Linked DNA regions of Homo sapiens: region 2 is linked to region 1. The links are contacts of gene promoters, found by promoter capture Hi-C in human tissues and cell types (Jung and others, 2019). All regions are on one chromosome and are shown on one strand. Each heading gives the region's core, a stretch centred on a gene start or on the middle of the fragment in contact. The rest is flanking DNA. Distances are from core to core; before and after follow the strand shown.

Region 1 (7,443 bases), core at 3,193-5,692:
AAATCTTTGTTGACTGAATAAGCCAGAAGATTCTCTCCATCTCAGGTACTATCTGTAGGAAGTACAACACACAGGCTGCATTCTTGAACTGCTTTGGATTATTTTATTCGCTTGACTCTTCATCTATTTAAATGACTGGGTTCCTGGCCATGATGTTTCAAACTTAATTTCTGTCAACGTGCTCAGAATTTTTTGTTCCATGTTCTTTCGGTAAGGACCTTTGTGAATTCCAGTTTCTATCCTTAGCTGAACTGGCCATCAGCGTACTCAGTTAGGCTCAATCTATACAAATAACAGAACATGCTCTAAAATGTGCTAATTTAAAAGATATATTTCTAATTTTCCTCTGCTTTCTAAAATGATTCTGGTTAACTGAAAATGCCAATGAGTTTTCTTCAGTTAAATAAAGCTGCCTGAATATTGCATATTATAAATACGGAAAGCCACTGAAATCCTCTGAGTTGGTATCTAAGAAGGAGATACCCAAGTATTACGTTATAATGGCATCCATTGTTTTCATGTGGGTGTGTGAAAAGCCACCAAGAGGGTGATGTGCAAAGTTAGAGAATTATAAATGGTATCACAGGAGCTAAATTTGGAAGATAAAAAATACTAACTTCAGCACCAAATTAGTATGCTCTGATATGGGGGCCTTTAGCTCATCAAGAAAGTCCTCAAACTTAAAAAAAATTTTTTTTTAACCAATAACCTTAAAAACTTTTTTTTGTTTTTTGTTTTTGAGATAGGGTCTCATTTTGTCACCCAGGTTGTAATGCAGTGGTGCCATCACAGCTCACTCCAGCCTCAACCTTCTAGGCGCAAGTGATCCTCCTGCCTCAGCCCCTCAAGTAGCTGGGACTACAGGCACATGCCACGACGCTCAGCTAGTTTTTGTATCTTTTGTAAAGACAGGTTTTGCCATGTTGCTCAGGCTGGTCTAGAACTCCTGATCTCAAGCCATCTGCCTGCCTCCGCCTCCCAAAGTGCTGGGATTACAGTCATGAACCACTGCACCTGGCCTGAAGATCTTAATTGAACCACACTTGCATTTAAAGCTAATTTTTAAAAATAGCCTTGAATATATTTTCTGTATGCACTCTACCTTCTTTTTTTTTAAGAGATAACCTAGGCATGGTGCAGGGTGCTAGAGTTCCTACCCTCACTAAATAACAGGGAAACCTGGGTTTCGATCTTGGCTCTATCATTTTTAATCCATGCTAACTTTAAGCCACTTACTTCACCTCCCTGAAGCTCACATTTTTTGTCTGTAAAATGGGAATACTGTCACCTGGATCAAAGGATTAAATGGGAAACTACATAGCAAATACTTAGCACATTGCCTGGCACACAATAATTGCTTTATAAAAGGTAGCTATCATTCCTTTTTTACTTCAATGGTTACTGCTTATTGTAATCTCTTTAATTTCACTCTTTAATCTTTTCTCAAGGGTATCCATAGACCTTGATAAACCTTCAGAAATTATTTACCAATTATTTACACAGAATCTACATGGGGGAGGACAGACACACGCCAATAATTACAAGTGCTACAAATAGGAAGTATGCCATCAAATATATAACAGGGGTACTTAATTCAACGAGGCCCTGAAGAAGTGTTATTTAGACAGAGATCTGAAATATATGAAGAAATTAGCCAGGCAAAAAAGAGTGAGGCAGGCAATGGAACATATTCAACCAAGTTAAGTGTAGGAGGTTATCCTAAGGGCAAAGGAAGATACTGAGAGGGTTTCATGGAACTCTGCAATTAAAACAACTTCCGGATGCAGAGGAAAGAATGAATTTGAGAGGGTTAAGACTGAATGCAGAGAGACCAGATAAGGGGTCTTGTTGAATTCCGATTACAAAGACAGTATTCTAGTTGGACTGGAGAGAAATAGAACCTATTTAAGAAAGCTGCATTTAGGAAGCAGAATCAATAAGAGGTGGTCATAGATTGTGTGTGGGAAGGGTACTCTGGAAAGTGAATCTCAAAAATGAGAAAATGCTAAACAAAATGTGTTTTTGTTTCATAATTATAAATTTAAAACACAGCCTATTACATATTTCTGAAGCAGTACACAAAATTAAAACTTTTAGGCCATGGGAGGACTTATTCCAACCATTTGGGAGGCATGACACACCCATCTAACTTACTGAGCAACAATGCTTTTGGTATGTTGATGGGAATTCTCAATTACATTTATCTATCAACTACCAAATAAATTTTAGTATGTAATACATAGTTGCAAAGTAAAGAGGGAGTATGAGTATCAATAGAATACTTCCTTTTCCTCTGAGACATCTTTGGTTCTTAATGGAAAAAATAATTTTCCACTTTTTTACAATCCCCGGTTTCATATTTCTAAATAAATTAAGCAGGAGGATTTTATGAGCAAACTAAAATATATGTAAAGTAAACCCTGGCTTTTTGATACCCTCACTAATGAGTTGTTATGGGAAAAACTATTTCACACTTCCCTGCCTTCTTAAACTGAACACATTAAATATAATTTGCTCTTTATTGAGAACACAGGGTCCATGCTTTAGCCAATAAGGTACCAAGCTCTTATGCTCCTATAAGCTGACCTCTTTCATGGAAGGCCCTGGCTTACTTATCCTTATCAGTTCAAGAGTCACGTTTCCAGGAAGCTGTCCCCTGACCTCCCCAATCCTCTGTTCTCTGAATTCCCAAAACCCTGAACACGCCTCTATTTCACCATGAACACAGTGAATTATAATTTCGGACCAGGCATGGTGGCTCATGCCTGTAATTCCAGCACTTTGGAAGGTTGAGGTGGGCAGATACCTTGAACCCAGGAGTTTGAGACCAGCCTGGGCAACATGGTTAAACCCCATTTCTACAAAAAAAATAAGCAGGGTGCAGTGGTGCGCGCCTGTATTCCCAGCTATATGGGGAGACTGACGCGGCGAGAGGATCGCTTGAGTCCGAAAGGTGGAGGTAGCAGCGAGCTGAGAACGCGCCACTGCACTTCAGTCTGGGCCCCACAAAGCCAGACCCTGTCTCTAAATAAATAAATAATAACTTTGGTTTACTTTTCTATCTTCTTCTTAGGTTGCATGCTTCTGTAGGGCAACGGCTATGACTTTTAATTCTGCATTATTAAATGTGTAACACACTGACCCAGGGGTAAGTTGCTATTCTCAAGGTTTAGTGACCCGCATCCTTCCCCTTATATAAACAGATTTATACGGGGACAATTTCGGAATTGAATCCACTTTTAATACTTTCTCTGACTTCGCAGAAAACAGCTGGCTTTGCAGAATATATGCCTGTAGCACAATGATTATCAAGATGAGGGTAGGTGTGTTGTGTGGTTTGGCAAAGCATGTTCAGATAATTATATAAATGGTAAAAAATAAACTTTTTTTTTTTTTGAGACAGAGTCTCGCGCTGTTGCAAGGCTGGAGTGCAGTGGCGCGATCTTGGCTTACTGCAACCTCTGCCTCCCGGGTTCAAGCGATTCTCCTGCCTCAAGTAAAGCTTGACAATAACTTGGCTGCACAAATATGGGTTTTAAAAGGTTGAGAAACAGTGTTTCACACCTGCCTTTCTACACTATGTTATTAACTAATTGAATCGAGTTGGAATAAACTAGTTAGACTTGTGTGCACAATGAGTCAAATGGCTCAAATCAAAGGTCTGAGGAGCCTCCATGAACCAGGTGCTTGAGCTGTGTGATGTTAAGACTTCAGGTATACCGAGCACGCTTCATTCAGCCTTGGCTCATGAAGTCCCTACAGTCTTAGAATGGAATACCATATAACACTTCTCTGCCCATCTAAATCCCATGCAGGGTTTAAGACTCAACTTCTCCACACTCTGACCTCGTCCTGAATTCCAAGGGCAGTGAGGAGTCTATATAACAGGATATTTAATAAGTGATTACGTTCTGCTGGATGTTTTTTACTGTCTGCTTAAATCTAGCCAGTCTCAACAACAGTAGGGAGACAGGATACTCAAGCGCCAATCGAATGGAAACGGATTGTTAACAGCCTATTATAACCCTCACGTGGGAACCAGGACGTCCAAACCTGGTTAACAGAGCCCACAGAGTTCATGGGCGAAGGACTGTGACAGTCAACCTCTTGTCTGAACAAAAAGACCCACTAACGAGTGAAAAAAGACCTCCTGGGAGGGATGGGGTGGGGGAGAGGGAATTCAAACCTTCTCAACAACAAAAAGCAGCTTTCCTTAGCCCACTCCACTTTCCAGCTCAATAATTGCTACCCCTCCCGTGCGACGATTCCCTGCCCAACGTAGGAAAAAAAGAGGTCCAAAAGGTTATAGCATCACCTTTGCCCTCTGACCTAGGAGCGAAGACTCACCAGTTTCATAATGGACTTTTGGTGGTTCAATAGCAGTCACTGAACTCCTCAAACCCAGGAAGCGTCTTCCGGTGCAATCTCCGCCACCTGCCAGCCGAGAGCATCGCGGGACTTGCAGTCTTTCATCCTCACGTCCCTTCCAGGGGAATAATGGGAAATGTAGTCTCCCCTCCAGGCATCATGGGAACTGTGGTCGCCTTTCCTTTTCCTCCCTTTCCTCTCCGAACGCCTCCTTCCGTCAGCTCAAATTCATCCCAGCCGCCAATGCATCCTCCCTCTCCACCCCAGCATGATATCATGTCTTCCTTACGGGCCTGGGGCCCATGGTGTTCTGGGATGTGTAGTCCCGACGGCTCCGACTCCCCTTTCCCTCCTCCCAAAGGGAAGGCGGATGGGCACGGGGCTTGCCGGAAGTTGTAGTTCCCTTGGCCCTCTAGGCGCCGGGCTCCGCAATTTTTCTCAGGGGAGGCAGGAACTACAACTCCCAGGGACGCCCGGCGGCAGCAGGTGGGAGAGGGGCTGTTGATATCAATATGGCGGTTGTCAGCCAGACAAAGACAGTCAGTCTGATGTGATTGAGACAAGGGAGGTTTTTCAGGGGGAGACTGGGAGATAGGGGCCTCCCCTCCCCCTTCTCCTCTTCCTGCGCCGGCCTCAACCCCTCCCCAGTCCCCTCCCGACGGGCGCCCCACGCGGAAGACACCCCTCCCCCTCCCGCCTTCCCTCCTCCCTATCTCAGCCCTTCGTACTGGGACGTTGGGGAGGGGGCTGTGCCGGGCGGAGAGAACTCAGCGAGGATTCTGAGGTGAGTCGAGCGGTTTTGAAGCCGGACTACCTCAAGTCTCTTTCCTCACTTCTTTCTCTTCACTTAAAACAATTTTTTTGGAGGGGTTTTGGGGAGGAAGTGAGCGGACGCTGGGGATGGGTCTCGTAAGCGGCCGGATTGAGAGGAGGGAGGAAGCAGGGGGCTTCCGAGTGGGTGACCCAGACGCGGGCTGTGGGGTGGGGCAGTTCGTGGGGTCCGGTCCTGGAAAGGCGTCGACTGCCCCCCAACTCTTCTGGTTTCCTCTACGATGAGCGGAAGGTTTGAATCCTGGAGGTGGGGTCTCCGGTGTGGAGTTCTGGAAACTGTGAGGTGATTTGCAGGTGTGTTGGTTTGTTTGGGGTGTGTAAGTGTGTTTAAACTGTGTGACGTGTACTTGTGTGCTCTGCTCGTCTTGGAGCGGTGTCTGTAGATGGGAAGTTAGACAGCGCGAGTCCTCGCTCGCTCTGGGCCTGGGCTGAGGGGCGGGCGTGAGGTCCTGGTGCTGGGCGTTTGGGCTGGCGACGTGGTGCGAGGCGGCCGGGCTCAACAACTCGCTTGTGTCCCGTCGCCCGCTCACACTCTGCCACTCGCCTCCGCCCCCTCCCCTGGACGAATCTCCACCCCAAACTCCAGCCACGAGAACTGTAGAGATGGTGTGATGTGGAGATGGATTTTTTGCATCCTCAAGTCGGTAGATAGGTGGGAAAGGAAAAGTGTTTCTTAATATTTTATTCCGGAACCGTGTTTTGGTTACACTATTGGGGCTACTTTGAAAGGCGTCCTCCACCCACCTTCACCCCGAAACAGTAGGTAGAGGTATCTTGTCTTCGTGTGAATTAGATGAATAATTGCTGAAGATTCGGGGGGCCTGGGGTGGGGGTCGGGAGTGCTGGATTGTGTACGCGTCTGTGTGTGTCTACTAAGGAGACGGAATGTCTGTTATGTATCTGGAGATAGGGCGACTTATTTTCGTAGCAGGAGGAACTGTTGGAAATTATTTGCGGGAGAGGGGGTGCGCCGAAAGGCGCTGCTTGTATTTTTCTTCTACTCCACCCTGTTCTGTCTTGCATTTGCCTGAAAGCTGGTGGAATGGAACAGTGAAGAAGCATTGGGTGAGTAAAGGGAAGAATGCAGTTGGCATTAAAGATAACACTATGTAAAGTTGAATGGTATAAAGTGATTACTGTTTTTATTTACGCTGAAGCTTAAAAAAAATCACCCATGTATCATATAAGGTAGAGTGATGTGACTAGCTCATTTCTCTGGTATCCTGCAGGTACAGAAACCTCTGGCTTCCCTCTTCCTTCCTTCCTATCCTCCCTCCTTCCTTCCTTCCTTAAGTCCTTCCTTTCTTTCTTGGCTTCGTACAACATTTCTCTTTCTGTTGGACATAATACCGCCTGTGTCTTTTTATTTAGTTTGTGCTAATATGGTTGTGCTTTTTGTGGTTTTACCATAAAATGCATCGTTAAATGCATTTATTATTTTGCATTTATGCTGCAGGTAATTATCACATCAGGATTGCAGTGCTTTGCATTAAACTTATTTTAAAATTGTGCAATTAAGTTGCTTGATCTAGCTGAATTATGTTTCTAAGTCAAAGTTGGGAAATTTGAATTCTAAATTTTTTTTCAAATTTCAATTAGAGTTAAAAAGGAAAGGATTGCAACATCTCTTATTTCTCACAGTTTTTAATATTTAATAACACACTAGGAGAATTTAAGGTCATATTTTGTACTTCCTTATTAAGTTCTTCAATAATCCTTATGTGACAATTTTTTTAGTGTAACGGATTTTTAAAGTAAAGAAATTGGCATAATTTCTATTTCGACTGTTGAGAATTGAATATATTCCCCAAACTTATCAATTCTTGAATCTGCCACCTATCATCAGTAAGGGACCTTTAGATTCTATGATAACTGAAAACCACATTGATAGAGTGTGTAATTTTATGATATGTCCTCTAACCATTGATTTAAAATTTTTGCTGTTGGTCATTCACACAGATAAGGGGGACTGAAAGAGTGAGGTAGCATGTATATTTCAATTGACCTGAATAGAAAAAAAAATGTGATTTCTAAATCTCAGATGTAGAATATACAATATGTTGATTCAAAACTAAGCCATTAGTTTGTGATAGACCAGGATTTTCAGAATCATTTGTTTTAAGCTTGTATCTTAACTTGAAACACTACTTTGCAAAAACCAGAGAAAAATCCTACGTAACTACTTAACGGAGTGTTTTGTTTTATTTTTCTGAAGCATATTATAATAGTCATGGAGTTTTTTAA
Region 2 (7,443 bases), core at 1-2,500, 1.9 Mb after region 1:
AATCTGCACTGCAATCAGAGGAGGGTAGGCACTATTATAATCCCCATTTTACAGTTGAGGGAACTAAAATTTAGGGAGGTTAAGTGACTTCCCTAAGTTTTAAAAAGGTCACTCGATTCTGTATGGAGAATGCTTTGGACAGAAGCTATGGTGGAAGCAGTGAGGCACATCAGGCTTTGGAAGTTGACAAGTGGTGATGATGGCCTGGACTAGAACAATAACAGGAGATGAAATGTAGACAGAATTGGGATATTGACGGAGTAGGATCAACCAACAGGCTTTGTTTATGGGTTGATGTTTGGGGCAAGGGAAAGGAAGGATTCAAGGACGACTGCCTCATGGGGGACTGAGCAAACCTAGGTATTTGGTAGTGCTACTGGTAAAGGGGAAATGGAAAGAAAAACTGTGGAGATGCTGAGAATCATGAGTTGATTTTTGGACATTTCAGTGATCAGTTTACATGTCTGTCTCCCTTTTTAAGGTCAATTCTAAAGTTAGAGACCATAATGAAACTTGGCTTTGTGTACTCCCTCTCTTTCTCCACATTTTCTCCCTGCTCACAAGGAGTCAGATGCCTAGAAATGTTGCGTGCAATAAGAAATGAAAATAAAATGCTTTAAAAAAATGTACAAAGACTGTCCTGAAGCTTCTCACTCACTCAAGCTGTGTTGGAATATAACAAGACCTTTATCCAAAGGATCAGAAATGTTGAATTCACACTCACCATTTCCGCAATTCACCTGTTCCCTTGTCTTTTCAACATCCACCCCTACTCTGCTCATTTATTATTTTTTGAGACAAGGTCTTGCTCAGTCACCCAGGCTGCAGTGCAGTGGCACGGTCATGGCTTACTGTAGCCTGGACTTCCCGGCTCAAGTGATCCTCCCACCTCAGCCTTCTGAGTAGCTAGGAATACAGGGGCCACACCACCATGCCTTGCTTATTTTTTGTATTTTTTTGCAGAGATGTGGTTTTGCCATGTTGCCCAGGCTGGTCTGGAACTCCTAGGCTCAAGCAATCCACCCACTTCGGCCACCCAGAGTGCTGGGATTATAGGTGTGAGCCACCGTGCCCAGCCAGAAATATGCTTCTTGAAGGCAGAGACCAAATGGAATTTGTTTTTGTATTCCCAGCACTTACCAGTGTCTAGTTTAATAGAACTAGGGACAAGGGTTCTATAAATTGCACCTGGGCTCCTGGCAGCATCTTTATCTAGTTCTTGAAATTTTCATGGGATTAGCTTCTTTCTCAGAATTCTGAACGAATGATTGTTTCCTTTGGATTGTTTCCTCTTTTCAGTTTTCTTTTTTTAATATATATTTTTTCCTTTTTTTTTCTGCTACCTTTGGATTCTTGATAGTGAGCTTCCAATAATTATTTCTTAACAGTATTTAAGTCTGTTTTATACATCATACTTTATACCAGCAGCAGGGCTGGTTATGCCTATACTGATATTCAGACATATATTGAAAAACTAGCCTTGTCTTTTTCTACTGTGTAAAAACCTTTATTGTCAATACATTTTACTTGTACTTAAGCTAGATTTTTTTTTTCTTTTTTTTTTTTTTGAGACGGAGTCTCACTCTGTCACCCAGGCTGGAGTGCAGTGGTGCAGTCTCAGCTCACTGCAACTTCCGCCTTCTGGGTTCCAGCGATTCTCCTGCCTTAGCCTCCTGAGTAGCTGGGACTACAGGCATGCACCACCATGCCCGACTAATTTTTTTGTATTTTTAGTAGAGGCGGGGTTTCGGTATGTTGTGCCAGGTTGGTCTCCAACTCCTGACCTTGTGATCCACCCGCCTCGGCCTCCCAAAGTGCTGGGATTACAGGCGTGAGCCACCGCGCCCTGACTAAGCTAAATATTTTAAGGCCAGTTCCTCACGTTGAAGTACACTGCTTATGGGGTCTATAGTTTAAGTACACAAAAAAATCCCAGCACTCTGGGAGGCCGAGGCAGGCGAGTCATGAGGTCAAGTAATCGAGACCATCCTGGCCAACATGGTGAAACGCTGTCTCTACTAAAAATACGAAAATTAGCGGAGCATGGTGGCGCACGCCTGTAGTCCCAGCTTCTTGGGAGGCTGAGGCAGGAGAATCGCTGGAACCCGGGAGGTGGAGGTTGCAGTGAGCCGAGATCACACCACTGCACTCCAGCCTGGCAACAGAGTGAGATTCCATCTCAAAACAAAAACAAAAACGAAAAAACCTTAAAATTTTTTTTCTTTAAAGGTATACACACAAATATAGTTCTTTCATATTCTCATGTGATGTTTGCAAATTGCTTGTTAGAACGAACAGCAGTAGTATGGAACATAAATCCCACACCTCAGTGGTGTTTTTTTTTTTTTTTTTTTTTGAGACAGAGTCTTACTCTGTTGCCCACGCAGGAGTGCAGTGGCACAATCTCTGCTCACTGCAACCTCCGCCTCCCAGGTCCAAGCCATTATCCTGCCTCAGCCTCCCAACTAGCTGGGATTACTGGTGTGCACCACTGTGCCTGGCTAATGTTTGTATTTTTAGTAGAGACGGGGTTTCACCATGTTGCCCAGGCTGGTTACAAACTCCTGAGTTCAAGTGATCCACTCACCTCAGCTTCTCAAAGTGCTGGGATTATAGACGTGAGCCACTGCGCCTGGCCTCAATGGTTTCTTTACATACCAATACTCTAGATATTAAACTACTTTTGTATTGGCCAGAGATAAAATAGATTAAATTATGTGTTGTATTGAATAACACCTGAATCAACAGTTAATACTGGCAAGTTGGAGGAGCCGTGATTTTTTTTTTAAAGTCATACTTCTTCTCTAAGCAACTTTAAATTGCTAGGGTTTTTAAAGAATATTGGGCCAAGCAAGGTGGCTCATGCCTGTAATCCCAGCACTTTGGGAGGCCAAGTTTTCTTTTTTTAATATATATTTTTTCTTTTTTTTTTTTTTTTTTTTTTTTGCTACCTTTGGATTCTTGATAGTGAGCTTCCAATAATTATTTCTTAACAGCATTTAAGTCTGATTTACACATCATACTTTATACCAGCAGCAGGGCTGGTTATGCCTGTACTAATATTCAGACATATATTGAAAAACTAGCCTTGTCTTTTTCTACTGTGTAAAAACCTTTATTGTCAATACATTTTACTTGTACTTAAGCTAAATTTTTTTTCTTTTTTTTTTTGAGATGGAGTCTCACTCTGTCACCCAGGCTGGAGCGCAGTGGTGCAGTCTCAGCTCACTGCAACTTCCGCCTTCTGGGTTCAAGTGATTCTCCTGCCTCAGCCTCCTGAGTAGCTGGGACTACAGGCATGAACCACCATGCCCAAGAAAGGAGGATCATTTGGAAAAAATATATATATATTATCTGATGGCCCACATCTGTGGTCCCAGCTACTTGGGAGGCTGACATGGGACGACTGCTTGAGCCCTGGAGGTTGTGGCTGCAGTGAGCTGTTATCAACTGCTGCACTCCAGCCTGGGCAAGAGAGTGAGAGGCCATCTGAAAGAAAAAAAAAAAAAAGGCAAGAATATACATCTATCTGTTTTCAGTTTAAAATAAAACATTTAAGTCTATATATGTTTTTTTCTTTTTTTTTGAGACAGAGTTTCACTCTGTTGCCCAGGCTAGAGTGCAATGGCATGATCTCTGCTCACTGCATCCTCTACCTCCCAGGTTCAAGTGATTCTCCTGCCTCAGCCTCCCAAGTGTCTGGTATTACAGGCACCCACCATCATGCCTGGCTAATTTTTGTATTTTGGTAGAGATGGAGGTTTCACCGTGTTGGCCAGGTTGGTCTTAAAGTCCTGACCTCAGGTGATCCACCCGCCTTGGCCTCCCAAAGTGCTGGGATTACAGGCATGAGCCATCTCGCCCGGCCTATATATATGTTTTTCTGATTCCTTCTTTAAGTTTTAGTTAATTGACTAATTACCAGCCTTGATCACGTTGGATTCCTCTGTATCTCTGCCATTTATCTTTTGAAAATTAAAAACACAAAACGAGTAAAAATTCCAAGAGGATGGAAATCATTTTTAACCCAGCTTTGTTTCCTGTCCCTCAACATTTGCCAAATTGTATTATGCAAAGTAGGTAGTTAGATTTCTGCTCAAATAATTTTCACTTTGGTTCTTAATATAACACCAAATACTGGCTGGGTGCGGTGGCTCATGCCTGTAATCCCAGCACTTTGGGAGGCTGAGGCCAGCGGATCACCTGAGGTCAGGAGTTTGAGACCAGCCTGTCCAACGTGGTGAAACCCCATCTCTACTGAAAATACAAAACTAGCCAGGCATGGTGGTGCATGCCTGTAGTCCCAGCTACCCAGGAGGCTGAGGCAGGAGAATAGCTGGAACCCAGGAGGCAGAGGTTGCAGTGAGCCAAGATTGCGCCACTGCACTCCAGCCTGAGCAACAGACTGAGGCTCCGTCTCAAAAAAAAAAAATAAAATAAATAAATAAATAAATAGACCAAATACTATATTTTTACTTTTTCCTCCGCAAGCATGTAAATCGTAATTTTACTTACAAGTGACTAAATGTCAAGAAATAAAGAAGCACACAGTTGCACAATTTGTGAGAAATAAGAATTTGGTGTTTCAGTGAGATTATCATAGAACTAGAATTTGACACGATATTTTCTTTTTTTCTTTTTTTTTTTTTTTGAGACAGAGTCTCTCTCTGTCGCCCAGGCTGGAGTGCCATGGCACGATCTTGGCTCACTGCAAGCTCTGCCTCACAGGTTCATGACATTTTCCTGCCTCAGCCTCCCAAGTAGCTGGGACTACAGGTACCCGCCACCGCGCCCAGCTAATTTTTTGTATTTTTATTAGAGACAGGGTTTCACCGTGATAGCCAGGATGGTCTGGATCTCCTGACCTCTGATCTGCCTGCCTCGGCCTCCCAAAGTGCTGGGATTACAGGTGTGAGCCACCACACCTGACCAACACGATGATATTTTCAGTTTTATTTCTAGTTATGTAATTTTCTCTATATGGGAAACTACAACTTATACATTACTGATATTCATAATATAGTGTAGCTGATCGCTCTAATTGTAACTGTATTCCCAAGATAGTGTTTATTCTAGAATTATGCTCTGTACATTTGTTCTGGAAATGACAACCATCATGAGTTTTTTAATGCCCAAAGGAGAGTACAGTAAACCCTCTGTATCCCTGAGTTCCACATTGAGCATTTAAGCACCTGTGGATTGAGACTATTCAGAAAGGGCTGGGTGTGGTGGCTCACACCTACAATCCCAGGACCTTGGGAGGCCGAGGCGAGCAGATTGCCCGTGTTCAGGAGCTCAAGACCAGCCTGGACAACATGGCGAGACCCCATCTCTACAAAAAATACAGAAATTAGCCGGGTGTGGTGGTACGTGCCTGTAGTCCCAGCTACTTGGGGGCACTAAGGCAGGAGGCCCTCCTTGAGCCCCAGGAGGTTGAGGCTGCAGTGAGCCGTGGTCTCACCATTGCACTCCAGCAGCCTGGGTGGCAGAGCAAGACCAAGAAGAGCAACACCCTGTCGGCCGGGCACGGTGGCTCACGCTTGTAATCCCAGAACTTTGGCAGGCTGAGGCGGGCGGATCATGAGGTCAGGAGATCGGGACCATCCTGGCTAACATGGTGAAACCCCGTCTCTACTAAAAAATACAAAAAATTAGCCAGGCGTGGTGGCAGGCACCTGTAGTCCCAGCTACTCGGGAGGCTGAAGCAGGAGAATGGCATGAACCTGGGAGGCAGAGCTTGCAGTGAGCCGAGATCATGCCACTGCACTCCAGCCTGGGCAACAGAGCGAGACTCTGTCTCAAAAAAAAAAAAGAAGAGCAACACCCTGTCTCTTAAAAAAAGAAGGAAAAAAAAAAAGAAAATATTCAGGAAAAAAATGGATAAATGGATGTTTGTCTGTCTGTCCCGAACATCTACAGGCTTTTTTCCCCGTCGTTAGTCCATAAACAATAAAGTATAGCAACTATTTATAGAGCCTTTACATTGTATTGGGTAGTATATGAGTCATCTATAGATGATTTAAAGTATGTGGGAGCATAGACTGTATGCAAACACTGTGCCATTTTATATCAGGGACTTGAGCATCCGTGGATTTTGGTATACTCAGGAGTCCTGGAACCAATACCCCATGAATACTGAGGGATGACTATTATATGAACAAAATCATAAGACAGTTGTATAACTTCTACTATACTTTTCCAGTACAAATAATCTTCTAATGTGTTATAATTTATTAGGAGTATCAAGAAAAATGTTTTGGGTTGGGCATGTTGGCTCATGCCTATAATCCTAGCACTTTGGGAGGCCAAGGCAGGAGGATCACGTGAGCTCAGGAGTTCGAGACCAGCCTAGTCAACATAGTGAGACCTCATCTCTTAAAAAAAAAGTTTTGAATTTTAATTTTAGTTTTTTTCCTTTATCAGGAATCAAGGATTTTCTTTTGCTTTGTGGCCGGATTTTGCTACTGCTTGCTCTTCTTACTTTAACTATTTCTGTGACTACCTCATGGCTTAACTCATTTAAATCTCCCCAAGTTTATCTGAAGGGTAAGTTTATTATTTATTCTACCCTTTTATACCATTCTACTCAAATTTATTTATTCTAGAACTTTGCACAGTAAGAGCCATTTTACTATTAATTTGTGATGTGTAGTTTCAGGGAGAGTAATCAGTACAACTTTAGTCATGATTTTTTGTGTTGGTTTTTAAACATTAGTGATGATTGTTTTGCATGGAGTATATCCCAACATTTTTATGAGAAATTGTACATTTTTCTTATATATGTGTTTTAAAGCTATATCATTTCTAAGTTGTTATATGGTAAATTCCCTAATTTTAAATTGTGTGTTTGTGCTGCTTAACTGCCATTTGATACCTACAGTTTATGAGCTGTTCTACAGAGTCAATGTATCTACCATTAAACTTTTTTTTTTTTTTTTTTGAGATGGAGTCTCACTCTGTCACCAGCTGGAGTGCAGTGGCATGATCTTGGCTCACTGCAACCTCCACCTCCTGGGTTCAAGTGATTCTCCTGCCTCAGCCTCCCGAGTATTTGGGACTACAGGCATGCACCACCATGCCAGCTAATTTTTGTATTTTTTGTAGAGACAGGGTTTCACCATGTTTACCAGGATGGTCTCGATCTCTTGACCTCGTGATCCGCCCACCTCGGCCTCCCGATGTGTTGGGATCACAGGCATGAGACACCACACCCGGCCAATCTACCATTAATCTTGAAAGGCTTTTCATCCTAATGTTTTATTCCATTCTAGCAGTTTTTACTTAGGCACCTTTGTCTTTTATATGTAAATGTTTTTAATTTTAGGAAATCATGCTTGTTTTTAGTTTTTTAATTTGAGACAGAGTCCCGCTCTGTCACCCAGGCTGGAATGCAGTGGCGTGCTTGGCTCACTGCAACCTCCTCCTCCCAGGCTCAAGTGATCC

The links. Contacts are between HindIII fragments. The study calls those that stand out against the background at their distance.
Region 2: a fragment that was not itself captured here is called in contact with the fragment with the promoter of INTS9 in region 1 in 1 of the 25 tissues and cell types used here (dorsolateral prefrontal cortex).

The regions. Positions count from the first base shown.
Region 1 is chr8:28,885,527-28,892,969 of GRCh38, forward strand. INTS9 (integrator complex subunit 9) reads right to left here and starts at 4,443. Exons shown (of 17, transcript NM_018250.4): 1 at 4,348-4,443. The coding sequence starts at 4,356. HMBOX1 (homeobox containing 1) reads left to right here and starts at 4,869. Exons shown (of 10, transcript NM_001135726.3): 1 at 4,869-5,152. RefSeq lists enhancers at 4,226-4,782, 4,422-4,621, 4,783-5,339 and a silencer at 4,992-5,111. The HindIII fragment of the contact is 5,500 bases long and covers 1,340-6,839 here.
Region 2 is chr8:30,744,973-30,752,415 of GRCh38, forward strand. It overlaps UBXN8 (UBX domain protein 8), which reads left to right. Exons shown (of 8, transcript NM_005671.4): 2 at 6,424-6,546. Among named protein-coding and RNA genes, the nearest start is that of UBXN8, 4.5 kb to the left of the region's middle. The HindIII fragment of the contact is 5,910 bases long and covers 1-4,205 here.